Linked DNA regions of Homo sapiens: regions 2, 3, 4, 5 and 6 are each linked to region 1. Evidence: promoter capture Hi-C in 16 types of primary human blood cells and fetal thymus (Javierre and others, 2016). All regions are on one chromosome and are shown on one strand. The core of a region is centred on a gene start or on the middle of the fragment in contact, and the rest is flanking DNA. Distances in the headings are between cores, read along the strand shown. Region 1 holds the start of PVT1 (Pvt1 oncogene). Region 2 has its middle 45 kb from the start of CCDC26. Region 3 has its middle 16 kb from the start of CCDC26. Region 4 overlaps CCDC26 (CCDC26 long non-coding RNA). Region 5 overlaps CCDC26 (CCDC26 long non-coding RNA). Region 6 overlaps CCDC26 (CCDC26 long non-coding RNA).

Region 1 (3,487 bases), core at 583-3,082:
TCCAGTGCAGAAAAGCTCCAGCCACAGAAACACAGCATGGAGGTGGCGAGGGGCGGGGGAAGGTGTTTAAGACAGAGGAAAAGGAAAGTTAATCAGAAAAAAAACAAAACAAAACAAAAACGGACTTCTATTTTTCAAGAGAAGCCGTTTATGCAAAAATTCTGCACTCAAGATAGATGAGGCAACAAGAATAAGCCACTCTTAACCAGGCAAAACAGCAACACAACCACTTAACAAATCCCTCTGGGAATTCAATGGGTACAGCATATACCCCACAGTCATACCCGTAAGTGGAATTCCAGTTGGGCCCTTGTGCCGAAGCTTTAGACCACGAGGCACGTCCTCACCTCCAAGATGTAACTCATCTCAAATAATGGAGACCAGGCCACGAGGTTTCTCCCAGACACGGATTCTGTATTTGTCCTTCTGCAGCTTCCGGGAAGGTTTTTCTCCTAATAAATCCTGTAGAAAGTTCCACTCAGGGTTCTGAGGATTGATACAACCCCCTTCTTGACTGATCAGAGCTTTAGAAAGATTCGCTATGACCACAGGACTGTGTCAAGTTGAACAAGTCTCAACTTGTCGCTGCCAGTATGCAAAATAGGTCTGAAACATCTTATAACAGACAACACAGCAGACACAGTCCCTGCATCCTCAGGGCCCCCGCCCACCCACCACACACAAACACATTTCTCTAGAGTTTTTTTTTCCTAGCAAGGAACTAGCCCCAGTAGCCAGGATTCACAGTGGTGGAGTGGGCGAGAGACAGGCTAACAGCCTCTCTCTGGAAAACCTAATACCAGAAAGGAAACACCAAAACCTCATCCTCTTGTCCCTAAATCCTTGCACGTGATTTCTTCTCCTCTCTAATGTTCTAGAAGGGCCTAAAGTCAGGAGCTTAGATGAACAGAAGAATCTTCCATGCCTGCAAACCACCAGGAAAAGGCATGAGGCATCCACACACAGACGCATGCAGCTTCATGGCTGTGCTTCCTGAAAGTCTACACCCAGAACCACAAACACTGGCATAAATAAGAGCACGTTAGCAAGAGAAGGCAAACCTAATTAAATCAACAGCCCAGCCAAGAAGAATGACCATGATGAGGGTTTAGGAGCACCCAACAAACCCTCACATGCGATGCAAAAACTGAGAAAGTCTCAAAACACGGAGTTACTGAGTTTTTGGAAATCACCTTCGCCCAGCCCTGAGGGGGTGTGAGAGGAAGCGGGGAGTGATGGTCAAAGGATGGAGGGAGGATCACACATTCACAGACCTCTAGTTTCGCCAGAGGGGCCTCCAAACCACATCATGGCTCCAAATCTGTTCTGACTGCAGAGGGGTCTATTTTTAGAAATTAGTTAATATGCCTTTGATCAAGTTCATAAATCCAGAATTGCCTCTATGCACCGGCCATTCGGTGTCATCCCCCTCCCCTCACCCTCCCCAAACGCCCAAACTCGCCACCAGTCTTGAGGCTGGTGATGAGGACAGTGCACGCCTAGCACACACATATTGGATTCCGAAAGCCCCTTTCCTCCGTCCGACTACTCACAGCGCATCCCTACTCAGGGCCAAGTCTCGAGAGTTTCCAGAAACGCAGGGGACAAAATTGGAACTTACTGGAGGGCAGATCTGGCCGTGTCTCCACAGGTCACAGGGACCGCCAACATCCTTTCCGCAAGGAAATCCACTGGAAGGTGCCGGGGGTCCCGGGGCACATCTTTGCTCGCAGCTCGTCGTCGCCCCTCCTCGTCCCGGCCGCCCCGAGCCCGCCCGGCCCGCGGGCCCATGTGCTCGGCCGCCACACGCGCTCTGCCCGGAGGAGCGCGGGGCTGGCGGGTTGCCCGTGACGTCACGGCGGCTCGCGCTCGGGCCTCGGGGGAGGGGGGAGGCGCGCGCGGCCCGGCCCGCCGCGTGCGTCCTCGGTCCCGGCGCTCCCGGCCTTCCCCAGGTCCCCGCCCGCCGCCCGGTGCGCCCCTCAGCCTGCTTCCCGGCAGCGCAGGGCACTGAGCCGGAGAGGGCCGCGCGCGGAGGCGGGGCGGGCTTGGGCGACTGCGGCCGCCAAGGGCCCAGACTGGGGGAGCGGAGGGTAGGCTCTGCCCTGGGCTGGGGGTCCTCGCTACAAGCGCGCCGGAGTCCCACCGGGCCGGAGGGAATCCCCGGTGATGCCAGCTCGCTTGTGCGCCGAGCTTTCCACGGTCTTTCCCTGAGCCCTCTTACCCTTCCCCACACCGTCCTGGAAGCAAGCGGTCTTCCCACTTTCCTGCTGAGGAAGGCGAGTTCAGTGAAATAGGAGGGCCAGAGATGCTCCGGGATAGGTGCAGTTCCCGCAGAAGACCGCCGACTGAGCTCCAGCTCCAGTGATCTGAGCGCCTCTTTGGGTACCACCCAGCATCCGCCGGCCTGGTGAGAAGGGCGCGCGCACCTTCTCGCCTCCTTCGACGTCTCCCGCTGTTTCCAGAAGCCGAGTTGCAAACCCGTGCAGAGGGCCAGCGGTCTGCGCAGCTCCCTCCACTCCGGGCAGAGTTGACCTACAGAGTGTGTTCAACGAGTCCCTTAAATGCCCAGTAGTTCCTCCAAAGGAGCAAGTGGACACTGGCCTCCCATGTGGGATGTGGTTATCTTGTTCTATCTGCATAAACCCGAGACTGGACAGATGTAAGAGCTGCCCCTGTTCAGTTCAAAGTTTATTTTATTTATTTATTTATTTATTTATTTATTTATTTATTTAGAGATGAAGTTTCACTCTGTCACCCAGGCTGGAGTGCAGTGGCCCGATCATGGCTCACTGCAACCTCCGCCTGCCTGGTTCAAGCGATTCTCCTGCCTCAGCCTCCGGAGTAGCTGGGATCACAGGCGCGCGCCACCACGCCCAGCTAATTTTTGTAATTTTAGCAGAGACAAGGTTTCACCATGTTGGCCAGGCTGGTCTCGAACTCCGAACCTGAGATGATCCACTCGCTTCGGCCTCCCAAATTGCTGGGATTACAGGCGTGAGCCACCACGCCAGCGCCCGTCCAGTTCAACGTCTACTGAGCACTTAAGGGGAGTCAGGCACCCAGCTAGGCAATGGGGTGGGGGTTACTCATGGACCCTAGAAGGACGTCACAAACCAGCAAAAATTGGACACACAAATGGGTGGTATCAATATTACGGAACAGAAGGTTGCCCCTCTTCTCCCCTGCCGGCTACCCTACATCCTACTCACTCCAACCTACCCGGAGGCTCCTCCCTCTTTCTGTGTAGTGTTTCATCACATCTCTTCCCGTGGCGGCTTCTCAACGCAAATGTTCTTATTTGAAAAAGAAAAAACAATTACTCAGTTGATGCTCCTGTTCTGCCTGTTTCACAGATTCATTTACACTCATGGGCATCTCTTTTGTGCCTGGCTCCTTGCCAGGAGCTGGACAAGTCTCCGCTTTGTGCCTGGCTCTCTGTGAGGGGCTGGACAGGTGTCTGTTTTGTGCCTGGCTCTCTGTGAGGGGC
Region 2 (3,487 bases), core at 670-3,169, 1.9 Mb before region 1:
TTGGGATCCTTCCTGGGCCAGAGAAACACATTTGAATTTGTTCCAAGTGAAATTAAGTCATGGAGACTCTGACTGCTAGAGGCAGGGGGTGGGTGGGGGGAGGGACTGGATTGGAAGGGAGCCTGCATGGAGGTAAGTATGACATCCAGGAAGTTTCTCTAATCGTCCACGCACAGTATGGAATACTTTAAAAGACAGGAGCTTGAAAAGTAAGTGTATTGAATTCTAGTTTCAATAGATACCAGGAATACCTTGGAGGTAATTAAAACAAACTTTATTCGTATATCCGATCACATCTTTCTGGGTTATCTATAAAATGACAGTGACTAGTAATATTTTTCTAGTAAATTTCCAATATATGCCAGAAGGTGGCAGCATTGTCAAACAGCAGGATGCTTGGTGCTGCCTGCCACTCTCCTTTATATGCTTCCGGACCTACTGAATTCAAGGCCATCTCCTCTCTCTCACACCCTGCCCTCCTGCCTCCCCTCTTCCATGTCTTTCTCCTTGCTGGGTTAACATGGAGTGGGCTGGGAGAAGTGGGGCATCAACTGAGGGCCTAACACTGGTCTCCTTTTATATTAATATCAGAATAGAACCTCCTTCTTGAAACACTACATTGATTGTATTAAATGTCTCCCTTAAAAATCTCTGGGAGGTAAGACCAGAATGATGAGGAACTTAGAACAATTGTCAATATTTCAGAAAAGCCATGCCTTGGTAAAATGTCAACTGCTTATGCTAGGATCATTATGGATTCTGTGATAAATCTGATTGTCTCATGTTGAGCAAAGACCTGGGTTGGGAGTTTCAAATATTTTTCCATAAGCAGAGGAATATTCTCTTTAAATAAATTCAGCCAGGCAATTAAAGTCTTTCAAAACATTGGAATCTTGGTTAACACATAAGAAAGCAGGGGTGGTGAGAATCTTGGGATTCATTATCTTGGTGGATACAAAGTTCTTCTTCATTTAAAAGACTGTATTGATTAGGGCAGCAGGGCTAACCAGAAAAACCTGGGTTTGGAGTTGGGCCGATCCCTAACTTTGCAACCTCCGGTAAATAATTCAAAATCTTTGAGCTTCATTTTCCCCAGCGCATTGGATTGCTATTGACATAAATTAAATAGTGTATATAAAGAACCTAGTATAGTGCTAGCACATAGTTGATGCCCAACAAGCTTTTCTTGAATCAATGGAACTAACAGCAATAGTAATATTGAGTTTTAGAGGCCTGCTGTGTACCTGATATTGTGGTCGTGGCGAGACTCAAAAGCAACAAATGGAAAGAAGAGAAGAATATGATTTTCTGATCTGGGACATTTAAATTACTATTTTTAATTTTTAGATCTTGGGCAATCGAACACATTTGAAACTGCTCCCTGGCTCTGGAGGGGGGTGATAAGTAACTGAGATGCCAGGCCACATGCCACTTTTCTTACATACCTCACAGCATGTGGCAGAGTACACAATATCAACTCTGGAAATTGAGCTGTTAGAAAGAAAAGAACGCATGAGTGTGTCTTTGATTTGAATACAGGTAGTCAGTTCATTACCTGAGGTTCCAGGGAGGATAAATCTTGCCTTTAATCTATACCAGCTTTATTGTCAGGGAACAGGACAGGGACGTGCTGCCATTATTCACCATCACTTATTTGAGGACACTTATTTAGCCTGTACTCCAACAGATAGTCTAATAAGATACTTGATGGAGAGAGGGCATGTGTGAATGTGAATGTGGAAAATGGTGGCCCCATGGTCTTCCTCTTGAGCTTTCTCAGGCTAGCAGAGGACAGGAGCAATCACAACAGCTCAAGTTAGAAAGGGGCTGAAGGGTTAACTTGTTCAACTGGCCTTGTATTCTCAAATTCCTTTTATGATATTGCTTCAGGAGCACTTCAAGAAAACCTCCAAGTAGAGCTTGAGATCTTAGTCCCTCTGTGCCACCTTGCAATGCCTTTTTCTTCTCATGAGAAGCTGGGCTCCTCAAACTATGCCCTTTGTTAATTGTTATTTCTTTGAATACTTCAAGGCCCTGTATTCCTTCTATAGGTAGCTCCCTCCCACCCCAGTAAGGGAGGAGGATTATGTGAATTCTAATAACATTTTTTTCCATAATTTCCAATAGTTCCTTTTTGGATAATTATGCTATCTAACGCTTTTTCGCTAAAAAGTATCATTTTTTTGAAGAATTCTACTTCTGTTTCTGTGTGTGAACATATATAGTTTTCTATACAAAATTAGGAACCAGCTTGTCATTAAGTGAGTTGTTACTCATTGTTTATTGGATGCATACAAGATACCAGGAATACAGGAGGGAATAAGACAGAAAACCTGCCTTCCAGGAGTTTGTATTTTAATAAGCTGTCATCTCAGACAAGGTGAAAGAAGATTGTATTATCTATTGCAAACAAATTGTTATTGTATTATCTATTGTGTTATCAATATAATCTATTGATAAACAAATAGATTGTATTATCTATTGCATAACAAATCACCCCCAAAACGTAATGGCTTAAAATAATAAACATTTAACTTATATTTTCCTCTTTCTGCTGGTTAAGAATTTGGGAATGGCCTACCTGGCTGGTTCTGGCTTAGGGTCTTACATGTGACTGCAGTTGGATGTTGGCAAGGGCTATAGTCACCTGAAAGCTTAATTGAGGCTGGAGGATCTGTTTTGAAGATGGCTGTCTTGCATGGCTGTAGGCAGGAGGCCTTAGTTCCTAACCATGTGGTCTCTCCATAGATGGCTTGAGTGCCCTCTCAACATGGAGGCTGGATTTCTCCAGAGTGAGTGATTGCCTCAGGATACAGCAAGCCTGGCTTTCCCCAGAGGCCATGATTGCTTTAGGATGCAAAAGCAAGCTTTTGTGCCCACATATTAATTAATTAGTTAATTCAACAAGTATTTATTGAACACTTACTATTTGCTAGAAGTTCCAGCATTAAAACATACCTCATTCTTTCCTCACTGAGAGTCTGGAAAAAGTAAAAATACTTTCAGCTTAGTTAAAAATTGGAAGGGCTAGAGTAGTAGTATTTTCTAGAGTAATTCATAGAGAAATAAACCATTTAACCAAGGTAGGGGTGCAATCCAATCACTTGCAAATAAACAGTGCAACTGCCCTTGATTCAAGTGTGCTCTGGGTCTCTTTTTATTTTGGAAATCCTTGTGCTTTTGTAATGGCTGCCTAGGAACCAGGGCTTTGCTCAGTTCATGCCAGGAGTGTTTGAGCAGAGTTGATCAATGGCATTAAAATTCACTAGGTTTCCCAAGCAGTAAAAAACTGCTAGATGCGGCCAGGCGCGGTGGCTCATGCCTGTAATCCCAGCACTTTTGGAGGCCGAGGCGGGTGGATCATGAGGTCAGGAGTTCGAGACCAATCTGACCAGGATGTTGAAACCCTGTCTCTACTAAAAATACAAAAAAAAAAAAAAAAAAAAGGAGAAGAAAAAATAGCCAGGCGTGGTGGCACATGCCTGTA
Region 3 (3,487 bases), core at 389-2,888, 1.9 Mb before region 1:
AAATCACATCCAGTCCCCCTTGCTTTCAATGGGGTTCAGAACACAATATTCCCTGGTAGTATGTTTAATATTTAAGTCTTTATAGCTACAGGGATAGTGGAGTATTTAACAGGGGAGGGGACAGGGTGAAGGTACTGCTGGGTTATGTTGCTACATGGTTCTGGACTGAGAGGCTCCTCAAACCTCCATGTTTATTGGGGTTGTACGTTTGCCAAGTTGAACAACCTCCTTAAGTTGTACGGTGATATCGTTCATGTCCTGCAGATGGAGATGTTACTACATGTAAGAGAGTTTTAGACAGTGACTTGAAGTGCCACACCTCCCTTTCCAAAAAAAAAAGTAAGTTTTTTCTTGTTCCTTCTTTGAAAAATGGGGCAAGAGCTTTCTAAATGGATGTATATGTCCAAGCTTTAGGTAAGATTTAAAATGAATTTGAAAGAAACCATATCCTCTTCTCATACCTTTCCCTTCTGCTGGGTTCAGCAATATCTATGATCCTTTTCTCCTTCCTTCCCTCCCTCCCTCCCTCCCTCCTTCCCTCCCTTCCTCCTTCCTTCCCTCCCTCCCTCTCTCCCACCTCCCTCCAATCCTTCTTTCCTTCCTTCCTTCCTTCGTTCCTTCCTTCCTTCCTTCCTTTCCCGTATTTGTACCACTTTATTTATTTAACACATGGAATTTTAGAACAATTTAATATAAATTGAGAAAGGTGACATTTGTACTTGTTAATAGCACATATAATTTCATTTCAAAAAGTGTATAATAGAAAAGACTAGAAGGAAATCTGCCAAAGTATTGACAGTGGTTTCCTCCACTGGTAAGTAGGTTCATAAAGAACTTCTTTTGGTATTTTATTAATTTTATTTTTTAAAACTATTGTACAAAAATTTGACTTATTTTGGTGTACAGTTCTATGAATTTCAACATATGAATTTGCATAACTGCCATATGGCTGCTTTCTCTCCTCCTTTTACCCTCACCCGGCCCTCTCAGTCTTTCCTACTTCTTCTCCCCTCTCTCTGTCCATTCCTTCCTGCTTTCCTTGGCTGGCTTGTCTTTCTCTAAATGCCAGTGTTTCAGCTTTTTTACTTTTATTTTTTAAAGTAGGGACTCTATCCTAATGGTGTTCTTATTCACTCATATATTATCTTATTACCTTCATGCCAAATGGCCCCCAAACTATATCTCCAATCCAGATGTCTCGGTTCCACTCCAGATCCACTTGCTGCACACCTTTTGGACATCACCGGGATGTCCCATAAATAACTCAAACACTACATGTCACCAACTAAATTCATTGTTTCTTCCTGTTGTGGGTGTGTCTCTGGCATTCCAAATCTCTCTTAACAGGGACACTGGAAACCTCACCTCCCGAGCTGGAAACCTCAGGAGCATTTTTATGCTCTTTCTATTGCCTCCTGCATAAATCAATTGCCAAGTCCCGTGTGTGGTGTTGGTGTTTTAGGTGTGACTCTTGATCCATTGCCATATGTCTATCCTCATTGTCTTTTGCCTTAGTCTGGGCTCTCTGCCTTGCCATGGTTGTGAGCGTTCACTTTAAAAACCTCCTAATTGGTGTCTTTGTCTCTAGCTTCTCTTGTCTCCTATCCATCCTTCCCATGGCCAGCATGGGATTCATCTTCATCAAACACAGATGTGATATTACACTCTTGTGCTTAAACTCCTTCCATAGCCATGGGAGGGCGTTCCAGGTGCTAGCTAGAGCTTCCATGATGGCCCTGTGAAACTTTGTGAGTCTCATCTTCCTCTGCCCAGCTCCATGGCCCAACTCCTCTCTCAAGATCCACTACGTAAATGGGGCACCCCAACACTATGCTCAGAGAGCCCTTGCATGTTCCTCAAACCAGAAACCTTCCACTCTATTGTCAAGAATGAGTTAAAAATTCCCTGTTCTCAACTCTTCCAGGAAATTCTAATTGTGCTTTATTTTGGACTCTCCTGCATGCTGACCACAGGGAGGTGGGAAGTTACTCTCCAGAGGAGATGATCTGAACCTAAAGGACCTTCACAATATGAGAAATGTCCAAAAAATAACAGAATGAGATAAGGACCAAGAGAAAGATGGAGTAAGAAATAGAGAAGGAAAATGAAGGTTAAAAAACCAGAGGATGATGGTGAGAGCTATCACATGATACAAGGTGGTATATGATTCATCAAATTCAATCTTCACAAGTATCATAAGAATTTATTTTTCAGATTAGGAAGGTAAGGTTCAAAGAATTTGAGTAACTTGCCCCAAATAACATGGTTTTGTGAGTTCAAAGGTTTGTGCTTTGCAGTATAGAAAACTTGTTCATAGGTGCTCATCAAGTTGGCTCTTGGGGGAGCAGTTTCTAAGTCAGAACATTTTTTTTTTTTTTCTGAGACAGGATCTTACTCTATCACCCAGGCTGGAGTGCAGTAGTGTGATCTCTGTTCACTGCAACCTCTGCCTCCCTGGCTCAAGTGATCCTCCCATCTCAGCCTCCCCAGTAGCTGGGACTACAGGCATGTACCACTGTGCCCAGCTAATTTTTGTGTGTGTGTGTTTTGTAGAGACAGGGTTTTGTCATGTTGCCCAGGCTGGTCTTGAACACCCACACCCACCTCAGCCTCCCAAAGTGCTGGAATTATAAGCGTGAGCCACTGCATCCATCCAGAACTTATCTTCTCTTTGGAGTGTTGACATAACCAAGTAGAGTAGACCTGGAGTCATTGGCTAATGGCCAACATTCTCCCCTCAGATGGTTGCTGACATTCAAAGGAAACCTCTTCAGCACAAGCCCTCTAAAATCCCTTGACCCAGGAAAGATGTGAAAACCAGCTCAGTGGGGGTGAGAATGGGCATTCACAGCTGTCGCCCAAGCTTCCCTCTCAGAATGAGTTAGTACCTAGCTTGGAACAGGGAGAAGGGTGTCAGACTCCTGAAGCAAGACCACCTCCTGGTCCTGCCAGAGTCACTCCTGGTGAATAGTGTGTTTTCCCAGAATTCTGGACCTGTCTGCTTTCAAATGCAAGAATTGAAAAGCAGGCCAAGTCCAGAAGGCAGGAGGACAGCTGGTGGAACACCTTTTGTCCCAGGATTCAGGAGACCTGGCTTCTAGGTCTGGCACTCACTAGCTCTGTGGTTTGAGCAAAAAACTTAATGTTTCTGAGCATCTTAATGTTTCCTTGTCAAATGCAAATCATAATGCTTACCCCACAGGTGAGGATGTATGAGAACACAGCATTTGGAATTGACAAATTACATGTCCGGCCCCCCTAGTAGCCTGTGAACTCCTTGGGGACCAAGTATCTTCTTCATCTTCATTTATATATATTTTTTACATAAAAATAAAGAAACAGTTAAGATACCATGTATTAAGGGCTTCATAACTCTTAATAAATGTAAAATATCTCTTCTAGGATTCTGAAGATAATACTCTTCTATATTAAATCATTCATTCATTCATTCATTCATTCATGTATCTATTCATTTTTTAAAAAAAAC
Region 4 (3,487 bases), core at 386-2,885, 1.9 Mb before region 1:
GGCTTTTGCAATGGTCATTTCCCATCTTTTGAGTTCTCTTCTTTCAGATAGCTGCTCGGCTAATCCTTTTACCTCTTTCAAGCTTTGCTCAAACGTCACCTGATCAATGAGGCTTCCTTTGACTGCTCTGATTAAAATTGCAACAAATCCCTTACCCTGGTACTTCCCCGATTCTCTGCTCTGTGTTCTCCATCACACTTGACACCCTGTCGCATACTTTACAATTTACTTAGAAACACCTGTCTTCTATTACAAGAATGTAAGGTTCACCAGGGCATGGATTTTTGTCTGTTTTACTTACTGCTGTATCCCCAAGCACTGAGAGTAGGAAATCCTAAATATTTGTTGAATGAGTGAATGAATTTCAAATTCAACAAAAGCCGCAGAAATGAGAGAATAGAAAGTCACCCATGCAGGCTTGTCAGACACACTGGCATGGTTTGGGTGATGACTTTTTCCCTCCCTTCCATCAAAATAAGACTCCTAAAGCTGATGTTATTATTGAAAGCAGCAGTGGGGAACGGGGTGGGAAAGGTGGCTCATGAAGAATAACGAAGTCAGCACTTCCAGTGAGCTTGGGTAAGTTAGAAGCTGGGCGGTCATGTGTGACTTCCATTAATCATCCTCTTCACACCATATCAATACAAGTGACAACTTTTGTCTGTACCTGCTGCCTTCAGTGCCATGATATATGACCTGTGGAGAGTCCAAGTACTAATAGTTGAAGAACCCAAAAAGATGAATGCTCACATCTTGACCCTTGAGAGAAGAGTTCGTCATAATGAAGGGTGAATGGACCATGCAAATATGTACTGGCTTTGGTCTCTCCATCCTGGCCTGGTGCCCATTATCCTGGAAGAAGAGATGGTCCTTGTGCATGGTAGCTTTGTGTCCATTTGGTTGCATGGCATGATTCTTTGAGAAGTTAACTGGAGAGTGGGGCAGATGGGGGCAAAGTTATGAGATAAGGCAAAACAGTGAGATTCAGAGCCTCTCTGCTGTGTACCATCTTTTCTCCTTTTCATTCCCTTCTACCCCCACAGGGGCTGTAGGTGAGACAGCAGTATGATAGAGATGAAGACTTGGTTCAAGAATCTCATTTTGCCATTTTCCATACCCTTGGGCAAATTATTGATTTGTTTAGCTTTACCCATGATTTATAGAGTGATAATCCTTTGTAGCTATATAAAATTTTAGTTATCACAAATGGCTTTAGCACTTGTTAGCTAATAAGATCCTCTCAATTCTGTAAGGTTAGGGAAGATATAATTATCTCTATTTTACAGTGAAACAAACCCCTAGGATTCTGAGAATTCAAGCTATTTGTCTGAGGTCACAAGGCTTGTAAACAGAGGAGATGAAATAAAAGTTAGGTTCTTCTGTTTTCTGTCCCCTATAAAATTTCAAGAGTCTTTCAGGCATTCAAACCTAATTCATTGACATTGAATTATAGTAGCTCATGATAATCATTCCAGGAAAGATTTTCTTAAAAATCAGAAGATAGAAGAAGGGCTTGAAGACAATAGTAACCAGAAGATCTGCGCTCCGAGTTACTAACTCATCCAGGCTGCTTAGACCAAGTAAACGAAACAAGGAGGCAGCTTAAGTTTTACGAAAGCATGCTTCTTTCCAGAATTTAAACATTAATTAAACATCTATGTATGTTGGCACTGTGCTGGTTCTGGGAATGCAATGATGACCAAGATCCAATTCTTATCCTTCAAAGGGGCTCAGAGACTAGTGGGAGAGTCAGAGTATTGAATACATAAATTTAAGAAGGCATCCTAGTGGTTTGGGTTTACAGATGACAGGGAGGGCAAATGAGAGGAAGAATTAATTGCAAATGGAAGAATTGCAGATTGCATTCAGGAAAGATTCAGAGTGAAGCTGAAACTGAGATTGGAGAGTCTAACACACAGTGAATGCTGAAAAAAATTGATTTCCGGCTGGGTGCGGTGGCTCACGCCTGTAATCCCAGCACTTTGGGAGGCTGAGGCGGGCGGATTACGAGGTCAGGAGATCGAGACCGTCCTGGCTAACACGGTGAAACCCTGTCTCTACTAAAAATACAAAAAATTAGCCAGGCGTGGTGGTGGGCGCCTGTAGTCCCAGCTACTCCGGAGGCTGAGGCAGGAGAATGGCATGAACCCGGGAGGCGGAGCTTGCAGTGAGCCGAGATTGCACCACTGCACTCCAGCCTGGGCGACAGAGTGAGACTCCGTCTCAAAAATAAATAAATAAATAAATAAATAAATTAAAAAACAATAAAAAATTGATCTCCTCCCTCCCTTCATCATTACTAGTCCCAAACACATTCCCCTTATAATTTTTCCTGAAGGGTCAATTATGCTTTTTCCAGGGAGGATACTTTTATATTCTTCAGCATATACACACCCTGGCCTGTGGGGGGATGCAGACCAATGGATGTCCTTTTTGAGTTGTCCATGAGAGAAAACCCTGGAAACTTACAGAAGCTGAGATGACCCTGATTAAGAATGGCTCCTTTTTGCAGGATGACAAGATTGTGCCTACCTCAACATATTTCTGTCCTGAAATAATTCAGTTTTGCTAAGAAGGCAGAAAAGGAGAGAGTAACCTTCTGCAAAGTGCCCCTGAGGTGTGAGACCAGATGTGAACATTAGTCTGAACAGTTTAATGAGCCAGCGCTGAAGATCACTCCCAGCAATGTACTGGGATGTTGATAAGACGTTCCTTATTCAAAGGCCACTTGTCAGCTTTGTGACAAACATGGAGAACCAGGAAATGGGCAAAAAAAAAGACTTAACGATGACGGTGTCAATGTCAAAAAGTCAGTGGAGGGCCAGGTGTGTGGTGGCTTGAGCCTGTAATCCCAGCTACTCAGGAGGGTGAGGTGGGAGGATCGCTTGGACCCGGGAGTTCAAGACCAGCCTGAACAACACAGGGAGACTCTTTCTCTAAGGAAAAAAAAATCCCATGGAATACAGCAACGTGTTTCTGGCTTTGGAATAGAACTTATTTATTCTTAGAAACAGTCCTCACTTGGCAATCTGGTTTCCTAAGACATAGCAGATTAGATACAGAAAATTTTAAAAGTGTGAAGAGGAAGGGGCTGCAAGGTTTTGCTCAGGCAAGCTGCATAAAATCCAGAGAGCCTGGCAGACAACAACTAGCAAGAAGTAGAGAAGACTCAGTAGGTGCCAAGCTTCTGGCATTCTGTGCAAGGACAATAGTGTATGATAGCTCAGTAGTTCCCATGGCTTTTGCAGTGTAATTAATAATGACCCTTGGTCACTGAACAAGACTAAAATTATGTCTTAATATCTCAGTTTACAAAGATAAGAGAGGTGAGACACTTTTCCTTCCAAAATAGCCAAGATATTTAATTATACTTAAAAGTTTTTATTTTAGTTTGAAAGAAATCATTCATCAGAAATATCTTTTTCTTGATAAAATTAGACTAATGAAGTATTACTTATACTTCTGTCTGAAAAGATAGCTGCTGTCA
Region 5 (3,487 bases), core at 413-2,912, 1.8 Mb before region 1:
AAAAATATTAATTTTGATTGAGTCCAATTCATCAGTTTTTTTCTTTTATTGCTTGTTTTGTGTTGTATCTAAGAAATATGCCTAACCCCAAATCATGAAGACTTTTCTCTTGTGTTTTCTTCTAAGAGTTTTATAGTTTTGAGTACCTACATGTAGGCCTGTAGTCAATTTTGAGTATGTTTTTGTGTGTGGTATGAAGTAGGTGTCCTAATTAATCTTTTTGCATGTGAATATTCAACTGTTCCAGAATTATTTGGTGAAAAATAAACTTCTTTCCCATTTAGTTTTCTTGACACCCTTGTTGAAAATCTATTGTCTGTAAGGGTTTATCCATTGATCTATATGTCTATGCTTATACCAGTACCACATTGTCTTGATTAGTTTAGCTTTATAGGAAATATGCAAATTGAGAAGTGTAAGTCCTCTAATTTTGTTTTCATTTTTGAAAATTGGCTATTCTGGTTCCCTTGCATTTCCATGTGAATTTTAAGATTAGTTTGTCAATTTCTGCCAAAAGCCCAGCTGGGAATTGATAGGGATTTCATTGAATCTGTACATCTATTTGGGTAGAATCATCATCTCAACACTATTGAGTCTTCAATACATGGACATGGGGCATATTTTCATATATTTAGATATTCTTTCTTTTTGTTTTTGTTTTTTGTTTTGTTTTGTTTTGTTTTGAGACGGAGTCTCGCTCTGTCACCCAGGCTGGAGTGCAGTGGCGCGATCTCAGCTCACTGCAAGCTCCACCTCCCGGGTTCATGCCATTCTCCTGCCTCAGCCTCCTGAGTAGCTGGGACTACAGGCGCCCGCCACCACGCCCGGCTAATTTTTTGTATTTTTGGTAGAGATGGGGTTTCACCGTGTTAGCCAGGATGGTCTTGATCTCCTGACTTCGTGATCCTCCCGCCTCGGCCTCCCAAAGTGCTGCGATTACAGGCGTGAGCCACCGTGCCCAGCCGATATTCTTTCTTTCAAGAATGTTTTGTGATTTTAAGTGTGCAAGTCTTGTTCATCATCTGTTAAAATACTTTCCATTTTATTCTTTTGATGTCATTGTGAACTGAATTTTTTCTTAATTTCATTTTCAGATTGTTCATTGCTTGTACAAATACAGTCAATTTTTGTGAATTTATCTTCTATCATGTGACCTTGCTAAACTTGTTATTTCCAGTATTTTTAATGGATCCTTTGGATTTTCTACATACAAAATCCTGTCATCTTCTTCCTTGCTACTTGGGTGCCCATTATTTTATATGCTTGCCTGATTTCACTGGCTAGATCCTGTAGTACAATGTTGAATAGAAGTGCCAAAGCAGACGTCCTTGCTTTATTCTGAATCTTATGGGGGAAAGCATATAGTCTTTTTAGCATTAAGTGTGGTGTTAGCTGTAAATTTTTTGTAGATGCTCTTTATCATGATGAGAAATTTTCCTTCTATTCCAAGTTTTGAAATCATGAATGCACACTGGATTTTGTTGAATGTGTTTTCTGTGTCTATTGAGATGATTATGTATTTTTTTTTGATTTTTGTTGTCAAAACAATGTTGCATTCCTGTGATAAATCTCACTTGGCCAAGGTGTTTAATCCTTTTTACGTGGCTTGCTAAATATTTTGTTGAGAATTTCTTCATTGCTTCTTGGCTAATCTTTTTCCATTTAGTTATTTCCTCTCTGCTTTTAATAATATTCTCATGAGAAAGTAGCTAAAGATCAAAATAGTGAAGATTCACTGGAGTTGACCATGTTGGAAGGGAATTTTGTATATCAGGTAGAGGTGAAAGTGAGACTGGATCATCATTGTTCATAACCCACTTCTCTCAACCACCTTGGAATCCTGGATTTCTAGGCAGTATCCAAACAGCATATAAAGGCAGAATGGTTAAGAAATTATTTAGGTGACCTTTGCCAAAGATGAATAAAAAAGATTAAGCAAGAGGATTTTTCTTTTTCACAAACCTTTGTTTCTTTTTCTTCTTTAACATGACTTACTGCAGGCTAGATACTGTGCTAAGTGCTTTATATGTGTTATCCAGTGGTATACTTACCTTCATGTTGAAACATGTGGAGTTCAAATAACTTGTCCAAGATTACCCAATCTACAATAGCAAGGCAAAGATTCAATATTGCCTGATGCTAAATCATAAGCTCTTATCCATTTTTTCAAGGAGCTTCTTCTTCCCCTTCCCTTCTTTACTTCTTTCCTGTATCTTCTCTCTCTCCCTTATTCGATTCACATTTATTGAGCCTTTGCTATACTGGTAAAAATTAGTATTATTATTTAACATTTTTTAAGCACTTTTGATGGACTGGAAAATATGCTTTTTCATTAATGATTATTAGATTGTTTAATTCTTATAAGTATCTTTGAGGTATGTGCTTTCATTGGTCTCATTTCATAATTGGGAAAACTGATGTCAAGAGTTTACATAAACTTTCCCAAGGTCACAGAGCTAATAAATGATGGAATCTTAAGATCAGAACTGAATCCAAGTAATCCTTTAATGGTATATGCTATGGTTATGAAGAAAATATGACAAACGCACTAGACTTAAACTGGGGGCATGTTTTAAAATGCTATTAAAGAGAATGAAGAAAATAAACATAGTGTATAAAACCTGCTTGGAACAATTAACTTCTCTCGGAGAAGCAGTAGAAGGCTCACTGAGAATGATAGATATTCATGATGTTAAAATAAGAGCAGGAGTTAGCTGATATGTGGCAGTGGCAAGGAAAAGTCAAGCATTTCAGGTGAGAGGAACCTCACGGACAAAGACAAAGCAATGTGAAAATGGCCATCAACTTCAAAGACAGGTGAGAAGTTCAGAGAAAAGCAGTGCACAGTGGTATGGGGAAACAGTGAGCAAGGATGCCCTAGATGCTGGGGGCTGGAGCCAGGTTGGGAAGGGCCCAAGCCAAGGTTTCAGCACCAGGGCACCCTTTTGAGCACCGGAATGACACGATCAACCTTGATTTGCGGGATCATCCCAAGATGGTGGCCAGGAGATCAGGGTAGCGGGGTCTGACAACAGCAAGAAAGATAAGCAGGTGCAGGGTGAATCTAGTTTATTACTTTGACTACACCATGTGAATCTGGGGCAATGGATTCTTTCTATATCAGTGGGTATGATGAGATAAATTGTGTATAGGATTTAGAGGTAGGCCCAATTGTGTTCCATTCCTAACTCAGCTGGCTTCTTTGCGTGTCCCTGGGTTACTATGATTTCTCTCTGAAGGTGGCTTTCAGGAACAGGGATAAAAGTAGCTGGCTCTTAAGGAGATGATCAGTATAAGGCAGCTACATGGCATTATTGTCAAGCACTTTCCTATGAACCTGGATTAAAAATACATGAAATATGTTTGTGCCTGTGTGTGTGTGTTTTGTTTTGATTGCTTTATTGAGCTATAATTTCCTAACAAAATTTACTCATTGTAATTGTTCAATTTAATTATTTTAGTAAATTTGTAGAGTTCGTACTCTACA
Region 6 (3,487 bases), core at 562-3,061, 1.8 Mb before region 1:
ACACATTGGTTAGGAAGCACCGTATTAGATAGTGCCACAAAACTACACAATAAGGGGCAATGTCTTTCACTTCTGCACCTCTAGTGCTTGTCATCACTCAGTGGCCCTCAAATATTCTAAATTGAATATACTTGAATACACTAATTGTTGAATTAAATGAAATGATGACCGCATTTTTCAGAAAAGACAATATTTCGCATGGCTTTTTTCAAGAAGATAAAGTAATGTATAGTAATGCATGTTAGAAATATTTTCAGATGAAAGCTAAAGAGAGAGTTTCTCAGTGTGGGGGATTAACACAATGTTTCTCAGGTAGTCAGTGGTAGAACAAGAAGAAGGCACATTTCTTTTTTTCCAGGTAAATGGCACACTGCAGTAATTTTGCTTGGGAGGTTCATATCGAGTGACCAAAGCTGCCAGCTGCTTACAGTAGGTAGACCACCATAAGTAGTGTGCCATGCAGACATCCAGAGTTTATTTCTGTGTGCTAAGAAATGGAAAGGCGTAGTCAATGAGCATTGTACACTGCATGATCTGGATTCTATTTTAGATTTGTGATGATCAGATGCTATTTTGTGATTATGTTCATTTTTAACCTAAAAACTTTGAAATGGATATTTCCAATGTCAAAATTAGAGGAGACTTATGTAGTTGTGTGTATGTGTGGTTTCTGTGTTGGAGAGTGACTTGGAAACCATAGCGAACTGATGATAGCAGCCGTTATGATTTGACTAGTCTGGCATGAATTTTTCCCAAAGATATGCAACGCCGATCATCCGAAGACTACTTACTTACCAGAAAAAAATAAAAGATAAAAAAAAAAAAAAAAAGAAGAAAAATAATGCTCTTGAAGGGGAGAGCTAAAGCAAACCTGTAAGGGCTTTTTATGGCCCAAATTTTCTTCTGCAAGAGGCACCTTCTTAAAAGTGATACAGGAGGGCTGAGGTTCTGTTTTTTTCTATTTTCTTTATAACTGTACTCATGGGAAGTTGCAAAAGCTGAACAGAAAGTATGAAATCTGGAAGTTTAAAAAAAGGCACAAAACCTCCCCAAAGTGGCCCCAAAATGACTGATACTGAGAAACAAGGACATTTTGCACATTTTTAACTGTGTCATATCCAACTCATTTGGTTGATTTTCTGTGTTTTTGTTTGTTTGTTTGTTTTTGTACTCATGTAGGATATTAAGAAAGCCTATAGATTATTGCTTAGGCCACTTCCTCACAGACTCTTTCAGTATCATGAGAATTCTTCTTGTTGTTTATCATTAATAAAAAAGTTCCAGAAATACCACCTTAAACAGAGCAAGTCACGTGGACGTTGGATCTGATATGCAGGACATACTGGCAGATGTAATTGAGCAAGGTTCAAGACAATGCCACTCCGGTACAAGTCATAACCATATCCAGATCTGGTTTGTATAGGTGACTGAGATAACCTCAGCCTCATCTCAGGAAGTGGCCACTTTTGGAGAGTCCGACTATCACGGTAGGCACAGAACTCTGCCATGTCACTAGCTGAATGACCTCGGATGTCACTTCAACTCTGAGCCTTAGAACTTGTCAACTGCAAAGTGGGGCACTTCACCGAGCTACATCATTGAGCTACTTCACTGAGCTACTTCATTGAATTGGGAAAATTAAAGGAGCAAATATGGGAGAAGGATTTGGCCCATAGTAAACACTATGACTGTCCGTCTTCTGCCATCTTTCAGTAGACCCAGTGGAATTATATGAAGGTTGATAGGCACTTAAACCAAGAATATATGAACATCTATTCTGTGCAAGATGTGTGCATTGAACTCAGTCCAGGACTGAAGGGGACAGGAGGAAGGTAAGGGGGCTCACATTTGTTCATTACATGTGTTAGGCTCTGTGCATGATCATCTTATATATGTCATATTTAATTCTCGCAATAATCCTATGGAGTGGGAATTATCACACAAGTACTCATCCCCCTTTATGGATTAAGAAACAGAGATTCAGGGAGTTTCTTACCTTTCTAAGGTCATTCAACTAAGTAAGTGCCAGCCTTGGGAAAGAAGTTTAGCTTTCCCTGTTGTTTCTCATGCAACTGAACAAGCTCATAATCTCAGACATGTATTTTAGGAAGTTCCCTGTAGAAGGACTGTACCTAATTGCTTTCATTTTTAACAATGGTTGGGTCATAGGTTTCCTGATGTGCTGATTAGCAGTATCTCTTTACTATCTGAAGACAGTGTTTGCCCCCCAGCCTTTCTGTTGTCAAGAGTAGGGAACTGCCTTTTGAAACCATTGTCCTGAGTGCAAGAGGGAGTGACAAAGAGATCATCAACTAAGGATCTCAGCTTTAAGTGTTCAGATTTGGCCAAATTATTTTTCTAGTTCTCCAAGTCCTACCTCATTTTCACACCTTTATGTCTTTGTATGAGCTGTTTACCTGATTTTACAAAGCCTAACTCACCCTTCTAGATCCTGCTGGACTTTCATGTCAAGGCTGTCTTTACTCCAAGGTAGAATGAAGTGCTCCCTTATTTTTCATATGTCTCAGCAGCTATTGCAATGTAGTATGCTTAACTGGCTTCCCATTCAGCTCCACTAAACTGGGAGCTTCCTGAAGGTATACACTGTGTCTTACTCATCTTTGCATCTACTATTCACTGTATGGCACACATATAATTTTGTGTATTAATGCTAGTAAATCAATGAATCAAAGACAACTAGCCTTGGCCTCTGCATTTATGTGGCATATCTGAGAGCCACATTTGCTAACAATTTGTGCCCACTTTTCAGACATTTGCCTGTTCTCAGCACCCTCAATTTTACTCTTCTATAGTCAGAGCAATCTTAGAATAGCTCTAATTGATGACCATTTTGGTCCAAACTCTACCTTGACTGTTGATTTCTATTCTCTGCCTGGGACTCTTGAAGATTTCTATTTAATTGGTTTGGGCACTTGCCTCGCACAGTGAATTGTTTAAATATAACCAGCACAATACAAGACGCTTAGGCTGCAGCTCTGAAATCAGTATATGAGGAAGAGACACACATGCGTGCAAAAGAGAGAAACCATTCATGAGTGCTGGGGGTGGGGGAAGGGAGAGCAGTTGAAAAGCATGTGAAAGCCACTTCCTTTTCTCATGTGAGTAGAAACTCCAGCAGAACTTATCAGAACCATTCATCTATATGATCATTCATTCATCTGTTTATTCATTCATTCATCTTGGATAGCCCAGATTATTGCAAGAGCCCCTCAGTGATCCCTCTCCCTCTCTTCTGGCCCCTGCTCAGACCATATTCGCAGCACTGAACATGACCTTTCTCTGGTTCTCTGTTATTCACAAGATAAAGGGCAAGCTCCTTAGCATGGCATCCAAGAACACTGATCTAGTCTCTGGCTGGCTACTAGTCCCCCTTGTCTCTTACAGCCTGACTTGTGCACCTCTCTAAGCTCCAGCAACAATGGACTCTTAGGAATACCACTGAAATGCAGTTTGTGTTGCCTCTGTC

The links. Contacts are between HindIII fragments. The CHiCAGO score rates a contact against its expected background, and 5 or more counts as called.
Region 2: a contact is called between a fragment that was not itself captured here and the fragment with the promoter of PVT1 in region 1, in 1 of 17 cell types (monocytes). The highest score is 6.6, in monocytes.
Region 3: a fragment that was not itself captured here is called in contact with the fragment with the promoter of PVT1 in region 1 in 2 of 17 cell types (erythroblasts and monocytes); the score reaches 7.1 in erythroblasts.
Region 4: a fragment that was not itself captured here is called in contact with the fragment with the promoter of PVT1 in region 1 in 3 of 17 cell types (monocytes, erythroblasts and neutrophils); the score reaches 6.4 in monocytes.
Region 5: a fragment that was not itself captured here is called in contact with the fragment with the promoter of PVT1 in region 1 in 1 of 17 cell types (neutrophils); the score reaches 5.1 in neutrophils.
Region 6: a contact is called between a fragment that was not itself captured here and the fragment with the promoter of PVT1 in region 1, in 1 of 17 cell types (erythroblasts). The highest score is 9.3, in erythroblasts.

Annotation. Positions count from the first base shown.
Region 1 is chr8:127,792,869-127,796,355 of GRCh38, reverse strand. It overlaps PVT1 (Pvt1 oncogene), which reads right to left and starts at 1,832. Exons shown (of 9, transcript NR_190187.1): 1 at 1,622-1,832. MIR1204 (microRNA 1204) reads right to left here and starts at 394; the gene lies at 328-394. RefSeq lists enhancers at 357-696, 797-846, 568-1,139, 1,140-1,709, 2,852-3,422 and silencers at 1,827-1,986, 1,997-2,056, 2,077-2,126. The HindIII fragment of the contact is 6,547 bases long and covers 324-3,487 here.
Region 2 is chr8:129,723,379-129,726,865 of GRCh38, reverse strand. It overlaps a transcript of GSDMC not described here. Among named protein-coding and RNA genes, the nearest start is that of CCDC26, 45 kb to the right of the region's middle. The HindIII fragment of the contact is 1,474 bases long and covers 1,183-2,656 here.
Region 3 is chr8:129,694,089-129,697,575 of GRCh38, reverse strand. No RefSeq gene overlaps it. Among named protein-coding and RNA genes, the nearest start is that of CCDC26, 16 kb to the right of the region's middle. The HindIII fragment of the contact is 2,455 bases long and covers 411-2,865 here.
Region 4 is chr8:129,672,960-129,676,446 of GRCh38, reverse strand. The region is part of intron 1 of CCDC26 (CCDC26 long non-coding RNA); the gene reads left to right. Among named protein-coding and RNA genes, the nearest start is that of CCDC26, 5.5 kb to the left of the region's middle. The HindIII fragment of the contact is 3,102 bases long and covers 85-3,186 here.
Region 5 is chr8:129,567,500-129,570,986 of GRCh38, reverse strand. The region is part of intron 1 of CCDC26 (CCDC26 long non-coding RNA); the gene reads left to right. Among named protein-coding and RNA genes, the nearest start is that of MIR3686, 85 kb to the right of the region's middle. The HindIII fragment of the contact is 5,467 bases long and covers 1-3,487 here.
Region 6 is chr8:129,546,579-129,550,065 of GRCh38, reverse strand. All of the region lies in intron 1 of CCDC26 (CCDC26 long non-coding RNA), which reads left to right. Among named protein-coding and RNA genes, the nearest start is that of MIR3686, 64 kb to the right of the region's middle. RefSeq lists an enhancer at 1,244-1,363 and a silencer at 1,774-1,823. The HindIII fragment of the contact is 4,991 bases long and covers 1-3,487 here.